Linked DNA regions of Homo sapiens: all the other regions are linked to region 1. Evidence: promoter capture Hi-C in 16 types of primary human blood cells and fetal thymus (Javierre and others, 2016). All regions are on one chromosome and are shown on one strand. Each heading gives the region's core, a stretch centred on a gene start or on the middle of the fragment in contact. The rest is flanking DNA. Distances are from core to core; before and after follow the strand shown. Region 1 holds the start of ACTRT3 (actin related protein T3). Region 2 has its middle 13 kb from the start of GPR160. Region 3 overlaps SEC62 (SEC62 preprotein translocation factor).

Evidence for each region. The method cuts DNA at HindIII sites, captures the fragments that hold promoters and counts their contacts. A CHiCAGO score of 5 or more calls a contact.
Region 2: a contact is called between a fragment that was not itself captured here and the fragment with the promoter of ACTRT3 in region 1, in 4 of 17 cell types (non-activated CD4 T cells, activated CD4 T cells, total CD8 T cells and 1 more). The highest score is 9.4, in non-activated CD4 T cells.
Region 3: a fragment that was not itself captured here is called in contact with the fragment with the promoter of ACTRT3 in region 1 in 1 of 17 cell types (total B cells); the score reaches 5.7 in total B cells.

The regions. Positions count from the first base shown.
Region 1 is chr3:169,766,802-169,771,955 of GRCh38, forward strand. It overlaps ACTRT3 (actin related protein T3), which reads right to left and starts at 2,760. Exons shown (of 2, transcript NM_032487.5): 1 at 2,520-2,760; 2 at 120-1,549. The coding sequence starts at 2,719. The coding sequence ends at 631. RefSeq lists enhancers at 1,483-1,627, 2,489-2,748, 2,840-2,984, 5,145-5,154, cis regulatory regions at 1,555, 2,912 and a silencer at 2,829-2,898. The HindIII fragment of the contact is 4,942 bases long and covers 316-5,154 here.
Region 2 is chr3:170,022,913-170,028,066 of GRCh38, forward strand. No RefSeq gene overlaps it. Among named protein-coding and RNA genes, the nearest start is that of GPR160, 13 kb to the right of the region's middle. The HindIII fragment of the contact is 9,800 bases long and covers 1-5,154 here.
Region 3 is chr3:169,998,295-170,003,448 of GRCh38, forward strand. SEC62 (SEC62 preprotein translocation factor) reads left to right here. Exons shown (of 8, transcript NM_003262.4): 8 at 1-79. Among named protein-coding and RNA genes, the nearest start is that of SEC62, 34 kb to the left of the region's middle. The HindIII fragment of the contact is 567 bases long and covers 1,925-2,491 here.

The sequences.
Region 1 (5,154 bases), core at 1,510-4,009:
GCCCAGGAGTTGGAGGCTGCAGTGAGCTATGATTGCACTACTGCACTCCAGCCTGGGACACAGGGCAAGACTCTGCCTCTAAAACTAAATAAATGAATAAATACATACATAAACAAAAATTTTAAAAACAAAATCAGTCTATTAAACATGCCCTGAATATGCTTTGTTCATTCTCATCTTTAGCAACTTGTTCATTTTAGTATGCTTGCCTGGATATCTGCGCTCCATCCCAATGCCACCCCTTCCATGATGGCATACCTCTGCTATGGAGTCTCGTTCCTCACCACAGCAACCTTCTTTCCCTAAACTTCAATAAGCTTAAATCTTATCACTCATTTGGCACATAGCATATTGTACCACAAATGCTCTCTTCCAAGGGAAATATAAGCTCACCAACGTCAAGTTATAGAAGAAACACTATGGGAAACATTATTTTAACTTGGTTCTACTCAATAGACATCTGTTCTTGAGCTTCACCATTATTATCCCCCAAACCCATTATAGAAATACAACAGAAATATTGGCATCCCAATAGGTGAAGTATTTTCTCTTCTCCCAGAAACATATAATATCCAAAGTTTTCTGTCACATATACTCAAAACATTTTCTTCCAACCATTTTATCTGTATTTCAGAAGCATCTTTGGTGTACTATGTTGGGTCCAACTTCTTTAAATTCTGCAGCAGTGATCCACATGTCCTGGAAGGCAGACAAGGATGCAAGAATAGAACCTCCCATCCACACTGATATTTTCCTTTCTGGAGGAGCTATAACTTGCACAGCGGTGTTGGCAGGAGCCACCTTTGCTATATCCTTAACTAACCGCTTGTCTAAACCAGGGAAAGAGGTTGATCCCCCGGCAAGGATAATATTGGAAAAGAAGGAATTCCTCAGGCCTGTATCACATTTCATTATGCTGCTGAAGCATATCTTATCAATGCCAGGGGCCTCAAGGTTCATATGACACGGAGAGAAGAGGGCCTCTGGACAAGAAAAGAGCTGGTCATGGAGCTGGATGACCTTCCCATCAGGTAGTTGGTAAACTTTCTCTAGACAATCGGGTTTCTTGGCCATTTCCTCTTCGTAGTTCATTGCCACATAACAAAAGCTCTCCTTGATGTCTTCAACAATCTTTCTGTCTGAAGCACTGAGCAACATGATACCATGGTTCTTCATTAGCACCATGAGGTAGTTGGTGAGGTCAAGGCCTGCCAGATCCAGTTGCTGCACACCATGAGGCAGACAGTAACCCTCAAAGATGGGCACACTCTGGGTAACCCCAGCACCTGAATTCAGCACAAGGCCAGTAGTGAAGCCAGCAGCAAAGAGAGCCAGCACAGCCTGGATGGACATATAGAAGGCAGGAACACCCAGATGCTCAAAAAACATTTCCGTGATCTGTTGCCGGTTGGCCAGTGGGTTCAGCGCTGGCTCAGTAATCAAGACTGGGCCATCACACGGCTTCAGCTTTAGGTTATAGTCATAGATATGCTTCCACATGATCTCCATGTCCTCCCATGAAGTAATGAGACCACGCTCCACTGGGTAACTGTAAGGAAAGCAATAAGATCAATGACAGCTTTTTATTTTTCTAGTTTCTATTGTCTTCGACCCTCAGTTAATTCCCCGCGTTTATTACCAATATCCCTTTATGGGCAATAACTGCCACAGCCTCTCACAGCAGGTAAGTGTCAGCCAAAAATAGCACAGCTACTTACCTCTGCAATTTTTTTTTTTTTTTTTGGAGACAGAGTCTCGCTCTGTCACCCAGGCTGGAGTGCAGTGGCGCGATCTCAGCTCACTGCAAGCTCCGCCTCCCGGGTTCACGCCATTCTCCTGCCTCAGTCTCCTGAGTAGCTGGGACTACAGGCGCGCGCCACCACGCCCGGCTAATTTTTTTGTATTTTTAGTAGAGACGGGGTTTCACCGTGTTAGCCACGATGGTCTCGAACTCCTGACCTCGTGATCCGCCCTGCTCGGCCTCCCAAAGTGCTAGGATTACAGGCGTGAGCCACCGCGCCCGGCCTACCTCTGCGATTTTTGTTGCTTTCCATTTTCTCTGTCCTTTGGAACCTTGTGACTTTTAAAAAATTGGGAAATGTCCACATTATAGTATAGTTTAAATGTCAATTGAAGAGAATAACCCAAGTGACAAAAGGGACCATGAGTTAATATTCTTAAATGAATTCGTTCGATAACTTTATACGTTTTAATACATTTGTATAGCCACAGAGAGCAAAATGTTCAGTTTTTAGATGTGTGGTACCCTTGGAGATTTGTGGCCCGTGCGTTTGTAGTAATTCCAGCTGGATGGGGCTTTCCAGCTCCCGGCTTTCTTATTCTTTCTGTCCCCATTGCGCACCTCCTTTGGGGTCCTTTCCTGCCCCCCGACAACACCCCCAGTCCCCCCACCCCCAGCCACCCCAGCCCCACCCCCCAACCTCCCCAGCCCCACCCTACCCCACCCCCACCCCACCCACCCTCCCCAGCCCCAGCAGCCTGCTGGGAGAAGGAGGTACCTGATGAACAGCGAGCTCCTCCAGTCCTGAGCTTGGTCGCCCACGCAGAGTTCTAGCCCGCCCTGGGCCGCGCGGCTCTGGCCCTTGGCGCGGCCGATAATGTTCGGGTAGATAAACTGGGGCTCCCGGCACCCAGCCACGCCCGCCTTGATCATTCCCGAGCCGTTGTCGATCACCACCGGTAGCTGGCAGTGGTTCATGCCGCCGCTGCTGCCGCCGCCTCCTGTCTCTGAGCCGCTCTAGCTACGGGCTCGGCCGGGGCCGAGTGCCTGGAACGCCGCGTCACAGAGGCCCCGGCACGGCCGGGTGAGGCCAGAGTCCTGGGGGCGCAGGCAGGGGGTCGGCAGGGCCCCAGGCGGAAGGACTCGCTGGACGCACCGTGCTCCTCATGTTACCGCCCGCTATTGCTTCTCGCAGGAATTGGGCCACCCCAACACCTGGAATCCCGGAATCCCAGTATCAGGAAAACCCGACTTTCGCATCAAAAGATTCAACTCTAACCCTTCACAAGTGCATTTCTCAAATACCCAGAAGAGCTATAACAGCAGTTTTATTTTCCAAAGCCACGGAATTCTGGTTAACTGGTGGCGGTTCCGGGGAGTTCTAGAATTCGCCCTTGAAACTGGGGAAAAATGAGACTTAAGAGGAGAAAGTTGTTGCAGGAAGGGAGGCAGTGTCTGCTTCTGAAATGTTAAACTTCTAAAATAAGGAGAAAAATGCTGGAATTTAAATGAGTTTTAAGTACGTTTATTATTGTTTCTGTACCTTGGGCAATGCTTTGTTGTGTTTCTTCCTGTGATTTCCAAGCAAAATGTACGCAATTAAAACAAAATAGTAGTTCCTAGCTTAAATATGTAAATAAATATAAATTTATATATATTTATATAAATATATATAAATTTAAATATAAAATATTAAAAAATATATAAATTTATATAATTTATATAAATATATGTTATATTATATAAATATATTTATATATTTATAAAATATATATTTATATATTTAAGCAAGGATATAAATCGAAATATATATATTTATATTTATTATATGTATAAATATAAATATATAAAAATTTATATTTATATTTATTATATGTATAAATATAAATATATAAAAATTTATATTTATATATCATAAATATAAATATATAAAAATTTATATTTATATATCATAAATATAAATATATAAAAATTTATATTTATATATCATAAATATAAATATATAAAAATTTATATTTATATATCATAAATATATAAAAATTTATATTTATATATCATAAATATATAAAAATTTATATTTATATATCATATATAAAAATTTATATTTATATATCATATATAAAAATTTATATTTAGATATCATATATAAAAATTTATATTTAGATATCATATATAAAAATTTATATTTAGATATCATATATAAAAATTTATATTTAGATATCATATATAAAAATTTATATTTAGATATCATATATAAAAATTTATATTTAGATATCATAAATAAAAATTTATATTTAGATATCATAAATAAAAATTTATATTTAGATATCATAAATAAAAATTTATATTTAGATATCATAAATAAAAATTTATATTTAGATATCATAAATAAAAATTTATATTTATATATCATAAATATATAAAAATTTATATTTATATATCATAAATATATAAAAATTTATATTTATATATCATAAATATATAAAAATTTATATTTATATATCATAAATATATAAAAATTTATATTTATATATCATAAATATATAAAAATTTATATTTATATATCATAAATATATAAAAATTTATATTTATATATCATAAATATATAAAAAATTATATTTATATATCATAAATATATAAAAAATTATATTTATATATCATAAATATATAAAAAATTATATTTATATATCATAAATATATAAAAAATTATATTTATATATCATAAATATATAAAAAATTATGTTTATATATAATAAATATATAAAAAATTATGTTTATATATAATAAATATAAAAATTTGTTTATATATAATAAATATAAAAATTTATGTTTATATATAATAAATATATAAAAATTTATGTTTATATATAATAAATATATAAAAATTTGTTTATATATAATAAATATATAAAAATTTATGTTTATATATAATAAATATATAAAAATTTATGTTTATATATAATAAATATATAAAAATTTATATTTATATATAATAAATATAAATATATATATTTCGATTTCTATCCTTCTGGTGTAATCTGCAAGCCTCATTCGCTACTCTTGATTTTTAGGCTGAAGGACGTGCCTGTCTTTTTGCAGGAAAAGTGAAGTTTATCAGGTCATATGAAATTCAAGTTTGGAAAAATTTGAAAGTACATTGCATGTCAATAAACGCATCTTGGTGTCTGATTCTGCATACATCTGTAGAGAATTTGAAAACAAGCAGTCAATTTAGAACTTCTGCTTGGTCTTCGGAAGCAAAAAGAGGAAATTCAAAAGTAATTTTACACGTCCTTCCACCAGAAGCTGAAAGGATGGCTTTTTCGCGGCTGAATAACGAAAGCCCCCTGCTTCGCCCCGGACTCTGAGCAGCTCAACCTGCGGAAAGGATGTGTAATAAAACGCCTTTCCAG
Region 2 (5,154 bases), core at 686-3,185, 260 kb after region 1:
CCAGGGAATCTGTAAAGTGTCAAACAACTAGAAATAAGCAAAAATTTGCCATAAAACAACAGCTAACATTTACTGGGTCCTTCTTTTTGGCCAAGTACGGTGAAAGCATTTTTCACATATGATTTCATTGAATTCTTACAACATCCTTTGAGACTTACCTTATGCTTCCTATTTTACAGATGGAAAAAGTCTACCAACACGTTGAAAATTTAGGTAACACTTTCTAAGTTACCCAGGAGTTGAAACCAGGGAGTCTGACCCCAAGGGTATACTCTTACCCTCTATGCTGGGGTTAACAAGCAATCTTCGAGTACTGCTGCAAGAAAAAAATAAAACAAAGGACACTTTTTAATTAATCACTGCTTCCCACTTCATGTCCTGGTTTCATAGTTATGTGTGTACACTTTCATAGGAAAATAGCAGATGTTGTGAAACCTGTTACTGATAAGGCTAGGTTCCTATGGGTCCAAGGCACTAACCATTGAATTTGGACTTTGTACCAAATATTTCCTATAGAGAGAAATAAGCTAGAAACTCTCAAGGTGTGAAGCTACTGCCTACCTTGAACCTAGCCTGTCTTCTTGGCCAGACTGAAAGCTCTGCATTCTTTTCTTCTTGTGCAGTACACCTTGTTGGCTTACCTCCTACAGATGGGATCTAGTCAAGAGGAAATTCATTATATTTTAAAACGGATAAATTGTTCAGATGAGTTACATGCTTGGAACTTAAACCATGGCAAAAAAAATTCTGTATTAATTATGCATATTTGGGAGTTTGCTTTTTAACTTTTAATTAAGGGAAATTTCCATCATATGCAAAAATAGACCATGTAATATAATCAACCCCCACGTACTCTTCACCCTGCTTCACACAGACACTTTTTCGTGGATCCATATTGCCTCCTCTGTCTTAACTAAGCCATTGCTGGATGAAAAGAAACCCTAGAGCAGCATTGTTTAATGTGAGCCAGATATGTAATTTTACCTTTTCTAGTCACCACATTTGAAAAGTAAGAAGAAACAAGTGAAATAAACTGTAACCGTACATTGTATTTAACCTAATATATTAAAAATATGATCATTCCAGTACTATCAATATAAAAGTTATTATCGAGATATTTTATATTTTTTCTTTTGTACTAAGTCTTTGAAATGCGGTGTACATTTTGCAATTACAGCATATTACAATCTGGACGGGCTTAATATTTTAAGGGCTTAGTAGCCATATGTGATATAAGTTAAATACACTAGTTTGTGATTAGTGGCTACCATATTGAACAGAACAGCCCTAAAGCGCCTAGGGTAAGAGAGTAAGGACTAAGCTCTGATTTTTCTCTTGTCCAAATTCCTATCTAAGGAGCCTGGGGAGTCATGCCCTACAAACCATAAATTCTCATCAGATGGGGTTTATTTAACCCTGTATATTGTGACTTACTTTCCAATCTGACTCTAGCATAACAAGAAAGAAAATCGAAATATTTTACCCCAAAACATGTTTCTCTGCCATATCTTGAAATGGCCCTGAAAAGCCATCCCTTATGGGAAAAATCCACATTCTATAGAGAATCCCCTTTCTACTTTGTTTTCCTTCCTTTTTTTCCAGATCCAGGAGATAATCAACTAAGAGCCAGGTACCCTTTTAGGTCCTATTCGAAACATTTTACAACCTGCTCTCTCTGCAGTCTGCTAAGTTGGTCTCCACAACCCTTTATCTTAACTTAAACATTTCTTTTCTGGTGATGCCAGGTCTTCAGATAAACTCAACCAACAGTCAACCAGAAAATGTTTAAATTTACCTACAGCCCGGAAGCAACCCCCGCCCCGCCCCACTTTGAGTTGTCCTGCTTTTCCAAACCAAACCAATGTGTTTCTTAAATGTTTTCTATTGATGTCTCATACTTCCCTAAAACATATAAAACCAGGCTGTACCCCCACCACCTTGGGCACATGTTCTCAGGACCTCCTGAGGGCTGTGTCACAGGCCATGGCCACTCATATTTGGCTCAGAATAAATCTCTTAGAATATTTTACAGAGTTTGACTCTTTTCATCGACAGGAGTAAACAGCTATTTTGCAATTTACCCGAAAATAATGCTACTAAAGACTTCTGGCAAAAGTTGAAGTACAGTGCATATATACTGGGCTTCTCCATGAAATCGCCAACAAAAGAAGACCAACAACAATAATTAAAAAGTTACTCGGGAGGCTGAGGCAGGAGAATCGCTTGAACCCAGGAGGCAGAGGTTGCAGTGAGCTGAGATCGCGCCACTGCACTCCAGCCTGGACGACAGAGCGAGACTCCGTCTCAAAAAAAAAAAAAAAAAAAAAAGTTAGACAAGTCCTTCTACAAAAAAGGACAACCTCCAAACCCCAGACTATGATGAAATGTGGCTCTCCAGATCTTGAGCAAGGTTATAGTGAGTAGAAAGTATGTTAGCATTTCCTGAGAGGTTACAACGTGGTAGAGTACAGTGGCTCTAGACACGCAATACCTGGTTCTGCTATTTACAAGCTGTGTGACTTGAGCAAGTTATTCAATTTCTCTGTGCCTCAGGTTCCTCGTCTATAAAAATGAGCATCATAAAGTCTGGGATAGTTTTAAGGACTGAATGAGGAATACATGTAAAAACATGCATGGCCCATGTTAACCTTCCATAAATGATCACCATTCAAAACAAAAAAAAACCAAACCCAACAGCAACACAACTGTGGGGAGACCAAAAGGAAAATGAGAACTGAGGATGAGGAAGGTGGGGCTGATGATACAATTGAATTCATTAGTAATTTTTCTCTGTGCTCTGGATTCTAACTTAACAAAGGTGCTTGGAGACGGGAGTAAGAAGAGAGAAGAAATCAAAACCGGCTTTGCTGGTGCTGACCAGTCCATTAAGCAGAGTTAAACATAAAATCCCTAGACAAAATATCTCTTATCTAGGAATCTTTTTTTTTTTTTGAGACAGAGTTTCACTCTTGTTGCACAGGCCGGAGTACAATGGCACGATCTTGGCTCACTGCAGCCTCTGCTTCCTAGGTTCAAGCGATTCTCCTGCCTCAGCCTCCCAAGTAGCTGGGATTACAGACGTGAGCCACCATGCCCAGCTAATTTTTGTATTTTTAGTAGAAATGGGGTTTCACCATGTTGGCCAAGCTGGTCTCGAACTCCTGACCTCAAGCTCTCTACCCACCTTGGCCTCCCAAAGTGCTGGGATTACAGGCGTGAGCCACCACACCTGGCCTATTATCTAGGAATCTTTACAGTTGTCCACAACAACCTCCTACTTGGACAGCTTGCTCAACTGAAGGGAAATTGTCCTACTGAAAAAAAAAAAAAAAGACAACATAATTTGGGGAGAGTGTTCTAAGGCAGCATTTTCATTTTGAAGTTGTCAGCTACTCCAGCTCAATAAACTGACCCTCTCCAAACTGTTTTTCAACAAAAGAACAAAAGAACCAGATACAATTGTTTGCATGTAGATATGAGATAAACACAGAAAAGAAATGCAATTTAAGTTGTATGCATAGTACAGTTTTTAAAAGTGACACACAGAAGAATATTTAAGAAAAAGATTTCACTCTCAAAGAATTTAAAAGGAACCTATAAAATCTTTGCCAAAGGGGCTGTGAGCGGTGGCTCACGCCTGTAATCCCAGCACTTTGGGAGGCTGAGGCGGGTGGATCACTTGAGGTCAGGAGTTCAAGACCAGCCTGGCCAACATGGTGAAACCCTTTCTTTACTAAAAATACAAAAAAATTATCTGGGTGTAGTGGCACATGCCTGTAATCCCAGCTACTCAGGAGGCTAAGGCAGGAGAGTAGCTTGAACCTGGGAGGCGGAGGTTGCAGTGAGCCGAGATCATGCCACTGCACTCCAGCCTGGGCAATAGAGCAAGATCCTGTCTCAAAAAGAAAAAAAAAAAAAAAAGATTATTTGCCAAAGAGCTTCAGAAGGAAGTATGAGAGATCAGAGAGGAAGATGAAGTAATCGGCTTCAGTAAGGAAAAAAATGATACATAACATTAAAGTATTTTGGAAATGAAAATCACAATAGAAGCAGTAAGAAGCATAGAAATGCTGAAAAAAGAATCCATGACTTGGAAAACAGGGTTAAGAAAAATATAGAGGGCAGAGATAAAAGAAAAGAGAGTGGTTATCCATAATATGGAAGAACAATGTATTAGATTATGATAGAATAATATATAATATAGATAGATATGAGGAAAAACAGTACTCAGGAAATATGGCACTGATCAACCCCTCTTGGAAAAGTTACTTGCAAAATCTAGACAATCAAGAGACAGTTCAAGATAAAGAATTCAAGAATGGAAAAGACTTTGCTTTAATGGATTGTTAGTGAGTACTGACCCCATTTAAATATCAAGAGGTTACTGGAAAGGGGTCCTGATCCAGACTCCTAAAGGGTTCCTGGATCTCATGAAGAAAGAATTTGGGGTTAGTCCATAGAGTAAAGTGAAAGCAAGTTTACTAGAGAAGTAAAGAAACAAAAGAATGGCTATTCCATAGACGGAGCAGCCCTGAGGGCTGCTGGTTGGCTATTTTTATGGTTATCTCTTGATTATATGCTAAACAAGTGGTGGATTATTCATGAGCTTTCCAGGAAAGGGGCAGGTAATTCCTGGAACTGAGGGTTCCTCCCCGTTTTAGACCATATGGGGTAGCTTCTGGACATTGCCATGGCATTTGTAAACTGTCATGGCACTGTTGGGAGTGTCTTTTAGCAGGCAAATGTATTATAATTTATGTATAATGAGCAATGAGGATGATCAGATGTCACTTTCATCACCATCTTGGTTTTGGTGGGTTTTGGCCATCTTCTTTACCACATCCTGTTATCCTGTTGAGATACAGGTTGTTATGACCTGTATCTCGTGACTTCCTATCTCATCCTGTGACTATGAATGCCTGACCTCGTGGAAATGCAGCCCAGTGGTCTCAGCCTCATTTTACCCAGCCCCTATTCAAGATGGAGTTGCTCTGGTTTGAACTCCCCTGACAAAACTGAGGTAAACAATAGCAAGAATTACAAACTGCAGAGCAGAATGAGTTGCAGGGTTGACACTGTCAATGTAAACACAGTCAGGTAGTCTAGGAGGGCATGCTAGGCCTCTGGGCCAACAGTCACCAACAGTGGGGCCTT
Region 3 (5,154 bases), core at 958-3,457, 230 kb after region 1:
AGTTACATGTGTTATGTGATGTTTTGTTTTGATAGATTATATCTTACTCCTAAATAAAAAGTCAAGATTTTTGTAGCAACTTCTATTTATTTTATGTATTTATTTATTTTGAGATGGGGGTCTCCTTGCTCTGTCACTCAGGCTGGAGTACAGTGGTACAATCACGGCTCACTGCAGCCTTGACCTCCTGGGCTCAAGTGATCCTCCCACCTCAGCCTCCCAAGTAGCTGGGACTACAATTGCATGCTACCACACCCAGCTAATTTTATAATTTTCATAAAGATGGGGTCTCCCTACGTTGTCCATGTCGGCTTTGAACTCCTGGGCTCAAATGATCCTCTTGCCTTGGCCTCCCAAAGTTGTGGATTACAGATGTGACCTGCCATGTCCAGCCTGAAGCATCTTTTAAATGGGAGAAGCAAAACAGGATCTTACCAACACTAAGATTATCTTTCAGTCATTCAGCAAACATTTGTGGAGTGATTACTATGTGCTAAGCATTGTGCAATCACAAAACTCAAAAAGCTAGTTTAGTAAGAGAGACAAGTATTCATGCAAACAGTGGCAATGGTGTTGTGTAATGTCAAAAGTATCTGTGACGTGCTTATGAGATCACATAAGTGAATACCCAGCCCAGATTAGGAAGGTCAGGAAAGGCATCCCATAGAAGTATCATGAGCTAGATCTTGAAGAATGAGTGGGTATTAGCCAAGTAAAGACTAGGGGAATTTTGGGCCACTGCAGCAAGATGTGCAAAAATAAGACAGCAGAGTGAGCATGGCATCCCCTGAAACTGAAACTAGTTAAGGTGCAGCTGGAAAAGAGAAACGTTTAGAGAGGGATACAGGTGGCAAGTCATTGTTTGACCAGAATCCCTTCCTTTAGAAAATATTCCTTTCCCTTCTGTGGTGCTCCTCATTCCATTCCACGGTGACTGGCCTCAAGGATGAGCACTCAGTTCACACCAGGCCAATTGAAGTCTTCTCATTTACTCAGGGGTCTTGAATTCCAAGGACCATGTGGACCTGAAGAAACCAATGGCTATGCTGCCTTCACATGAATGGAGCCTGTCTAGAAATAGAACCAACATGAAAAAAACAGAACCAAGGGTGGATCAGGAAGACAAGGCCTTAATGCCATCTTTGAACTCCCAGATCTAGCCTGGCCTAAAGCCATCCCTGGGCTTTTCAGTTGCATGAGCCAACAGATTCATCATTTTTTCTCAGTTATTTTGAATGAGATTTCTGTCACTGGGAACTGAAAGATGACTGAGTTGCACACAGTAAGTATGAACAGTGACACTAAAATACCTTTGGAGCAGATTGACTCAAAGCAGGAGAGTGACACATTCAGATTTGCATCTTAGACTACACTAATCACATAGAAAATGGCATGGCAAGGAGCAAGGCTTAGATATTTTCTGGATACTTCCAGTATTTCTCAGATTTACACATTCTAACCACAACTCCCCTCTTGTTGTTAAAAACAATTTATTTTCTTATTACGGAAAAATCAGAAACTTATAAGCAAAAATAACCAGAAAACTCACAAACCTACTGTCTTAGTCCATTTTGTGTAGCTATAACAGAATACCACAGACTGGGTAATTTATAAAGAAAATAAACTGACAGGGCATGGTGGCTCATGCCTGTAATCCCACCACTTTGGGAGGCCAAGGCGGGTGGATCACCTGAGGTCAGGAGTTCGAGACCAGCCTGGCTAACATGGCAAAACCCCGACTCTACTGAAAATATAAAAATTAGCTGGGTGTGGTGGTGTGCACCTGTAGTCCCAGTTACTTGGGAGGCTGTGACAGGCGAATCGCTTGAACCCAGGAGGCAGAGGTTGCAGTGAGCTGAGATCACACCACTGCACTCCAGCCTGGGCAAGAGAGTGAGATTCTGTCTCAAGAAAAAAAAAAAGAAGCTTATTTGACTCATGAGTTTGGAGGCTGAGAAGTCCAAGAGCATGGCACTGGGATCTAGTGAGGGCTTTCATGCTGCATCCCATGGTGGAAGGCAGAAGGGCAAGACAAGATGAAAGCCAGTGAGCAAGAGGGGGCTGAACTGGCTTTTATAACAAGCCCACTCTCATGATAATAACAATGCATCTGTGAAGGCAGAGCCCTTATGGCCTAATCACCTCTTAAAGGTTCCACCTCTTAATATCATCACAATGGCAATTAAATTTCAGCATGAGTTTTGAGGGGGACATTGAAACCATAGCACCTACCTTCAGAGACAACTACTGTTAAAACTCATATATATCCTTCTATAGCTCTTATATGTGTAACATGTATGTCTCTGTTCACTGAGGTGAGGAGATAGTAAATAAATGGGATCATACCATGTATACTTTATATTAAGAGTATTCAGAAATTAACGATCTGGAAAAAGAACATGTTGTGTGGAACCAAAGACACCATTTTTTCAGAAGAACAAATTATTGACCAGCTTATGATTTTAAATTGTATTTCTGCTCACCAACTTCAAGCTTCAGATTGTGAAGTTATCCTTAGACTAAGTATATAGTAAATGCATGTTACAAAGTATTTCACATTACAGTGTTTTTAATGATCAACATTCGAGGGGATTAGAAGGAAGAATTTATTATTAACTTGCCATATCCTCAAATACATACACCTTTAACAATTATGGCACTTTGCACTGCAAAGAAAAAAATAAAGGGCAGTAACAAGTAAATTAGTACACAACAAGGCTCTTGAAAACAAGAGCAGTAACTGCAGAAACTGGTCTGTACTTACAGAGTCTGGACAATATCTGACAGACTGCACAGCTATAAAGAGTGGTTGGATACTATATAAAGCAAAGCAAGTTGCATCTCTATCCCATCTTTCTAGTTGCATATACTCCACAGGGTTCAATTACAAAATTGAAACCCTATTCTTAATAACTTTTTTTCTTATTGTCCTTTAATAAAAGAACCATCAGAATTCTCCACTTTTCAATCGCATATGCTGTCTTCTATCTCACCTTCCATCCCACCCCTAATTTAGTCTCCTTCCAAAGGACTGATTGCAAATTTCACTACTTAACAAACAACATATGCAGCCGGGCGTGGTGGCTCATACCTGTAATCCCAGCACTTTGGGAGGCCGAGGCAGGTGGATCATGAGGTCAGGAGATCAAGACCATCCTGGCCAACATGGTGAAACCCTGTCTCTACTAAAAATACAAAAATTAGCCGGGTGTAGAGGTGCACACCTGTAGTCCCAGCTAGTCGGGAGGCTGAGGCAGGAGAATTGCTTGAACCTAGGAGGCAGAGGCTGCAGTGAGCCGAGATCACACTACTACACTCGTCTGGGCGACAGAGCGAGACTCCGTCAAAAAAAGAAAACATATGCAAGATTCAGATGTCTCGTGCTTCCCTCTGCCTCCACCCAAAGTTTCTTATTAACAGTATTGGTGGGAGCATGACATGTTTGTTTGAACAGTTCCATCAATGCCAAGCCACGATTATACACGGATAATGTTCCTATAGAAGGGAACCAACTCCTGGAAAATGAGCTCGAATGTTCAGCCCCATTGCCACCTCACATTCTTTATTCCCCACCACACAGATTGAGAGGGATGCGGTGACCAGACAGAGGAATGCCATTGAGACTCCCAGCACAGACCGTAGACTGCTTTTCTCAGGAGGCAATGGCAGTTCTCTGCAATACTCAGAAGGCAAGTCACCTGAAGAATCTTAAAACTGGAGACCTGCTGCACAATCCTTTTCTTTCTTCATTCAGCCAACATTTACTGAGCCTCGACTATATGCTGAACAATAATATAAATGAGGAACCCACAGTCCCGGCTCAGAATCCGGGGAAGGAGCAAGGAAACCAGCGGCTGCCTGCACATGCACACGTTGCCGGAGGAGATCCATCTTCTGCCCTAAAAGCTACAATCTCCGCCATCGGAAAGCTTCCAGCCTGGTAGGGTTATGATAAGGCAAACAAACAAACAAACAGACACAAACAAAGTGCTGCAGGCTTTGAGAAAGAAGTTAGATGGTGAAGGATTGCGGAGGCAAAAAGAGGCGAGCGATCAGAGAGCTCTTACTCCACAAGGGAGGATTTTACAGCAGCCATCACTCCTTAGTCTCTGTTTCCTTTTTATCACCGACACAAATGCTTCTGAGAACTTGGAATACTGCCCACCAGGAGTTTACAAATCCAAGTGAAAACTAACCACTAACTGACGGAGTAGAAAGGAAAGGAACAGGCCGGGCGCGAAAGCTCATGCCCATAATCCCAGCACTTTGGGAGGCAGAGGCGTGCGGATCATCTGCTCTCAGGAGTTTGAGACCAGCCTGGCCAACATGGTGAAACTCCGTCTCTACTAAAAATACAAAAATCAGCCGGGCGTGGTGGTGGGAGCCTGTAATCCCAGCTACTCAGGAGGCTGAGGCAGGAGAATCGCTTGAACCCAGAAGGCAGAGGTTGCAGTGAGCTGAGATCGCGGCCACTGCACTCCATCCTGGGCAAAGGAGCGAGACTCTGTCTCAAAAAAAAAAAAAGGGAAAAAGAAAAAGGAACAAAAGAATAACTCCTTGGGCCTCTGGTATAGAGGCTTCCAGCACAAAGTCACAATATGTGGGACAATATCAAATAAGCATTCCATTTATCACTAAAATATCTTGTGTTTACCATAAAGTGAAACCTGCTTAAAATAAAATCCATCAGGATGCTCATTTTGTTCACCCTACCCCCACTTGCCACATTACAAAGAGGAAGCAACAAGACATTGTTCAATGCTGCTGAGAACAATTTCATTTCCTTCCTGTTCACTATCTTTTTTGATACAACATGTAATTATGGGAATTTTTAAGAATTTTCAACAAATGTCTTCTATAAAACTTAGTCCCTTCTGTAGCAACATACGATCCCCCTGCAAATCAAGGTAGCTAGGAATTGTGCAGTGAAAGAGAGTGGTTTGCTTTAATGTTGTGTGCAACTAACTTCCTGTTGCCTTTTAATGTTCTGCTGCTAGTACAGCATAATTGGATAACTAATAACAAATACACGTGGTGCTGATTTTGTTTCATTAAAACATTTACAGAAGCTCAAAGTTAAGCATCTGAAACACCTGATTGATTTTTGTTTTTCACTACAATCTTTTTATGGCATAACATATGCACAGCTAATGT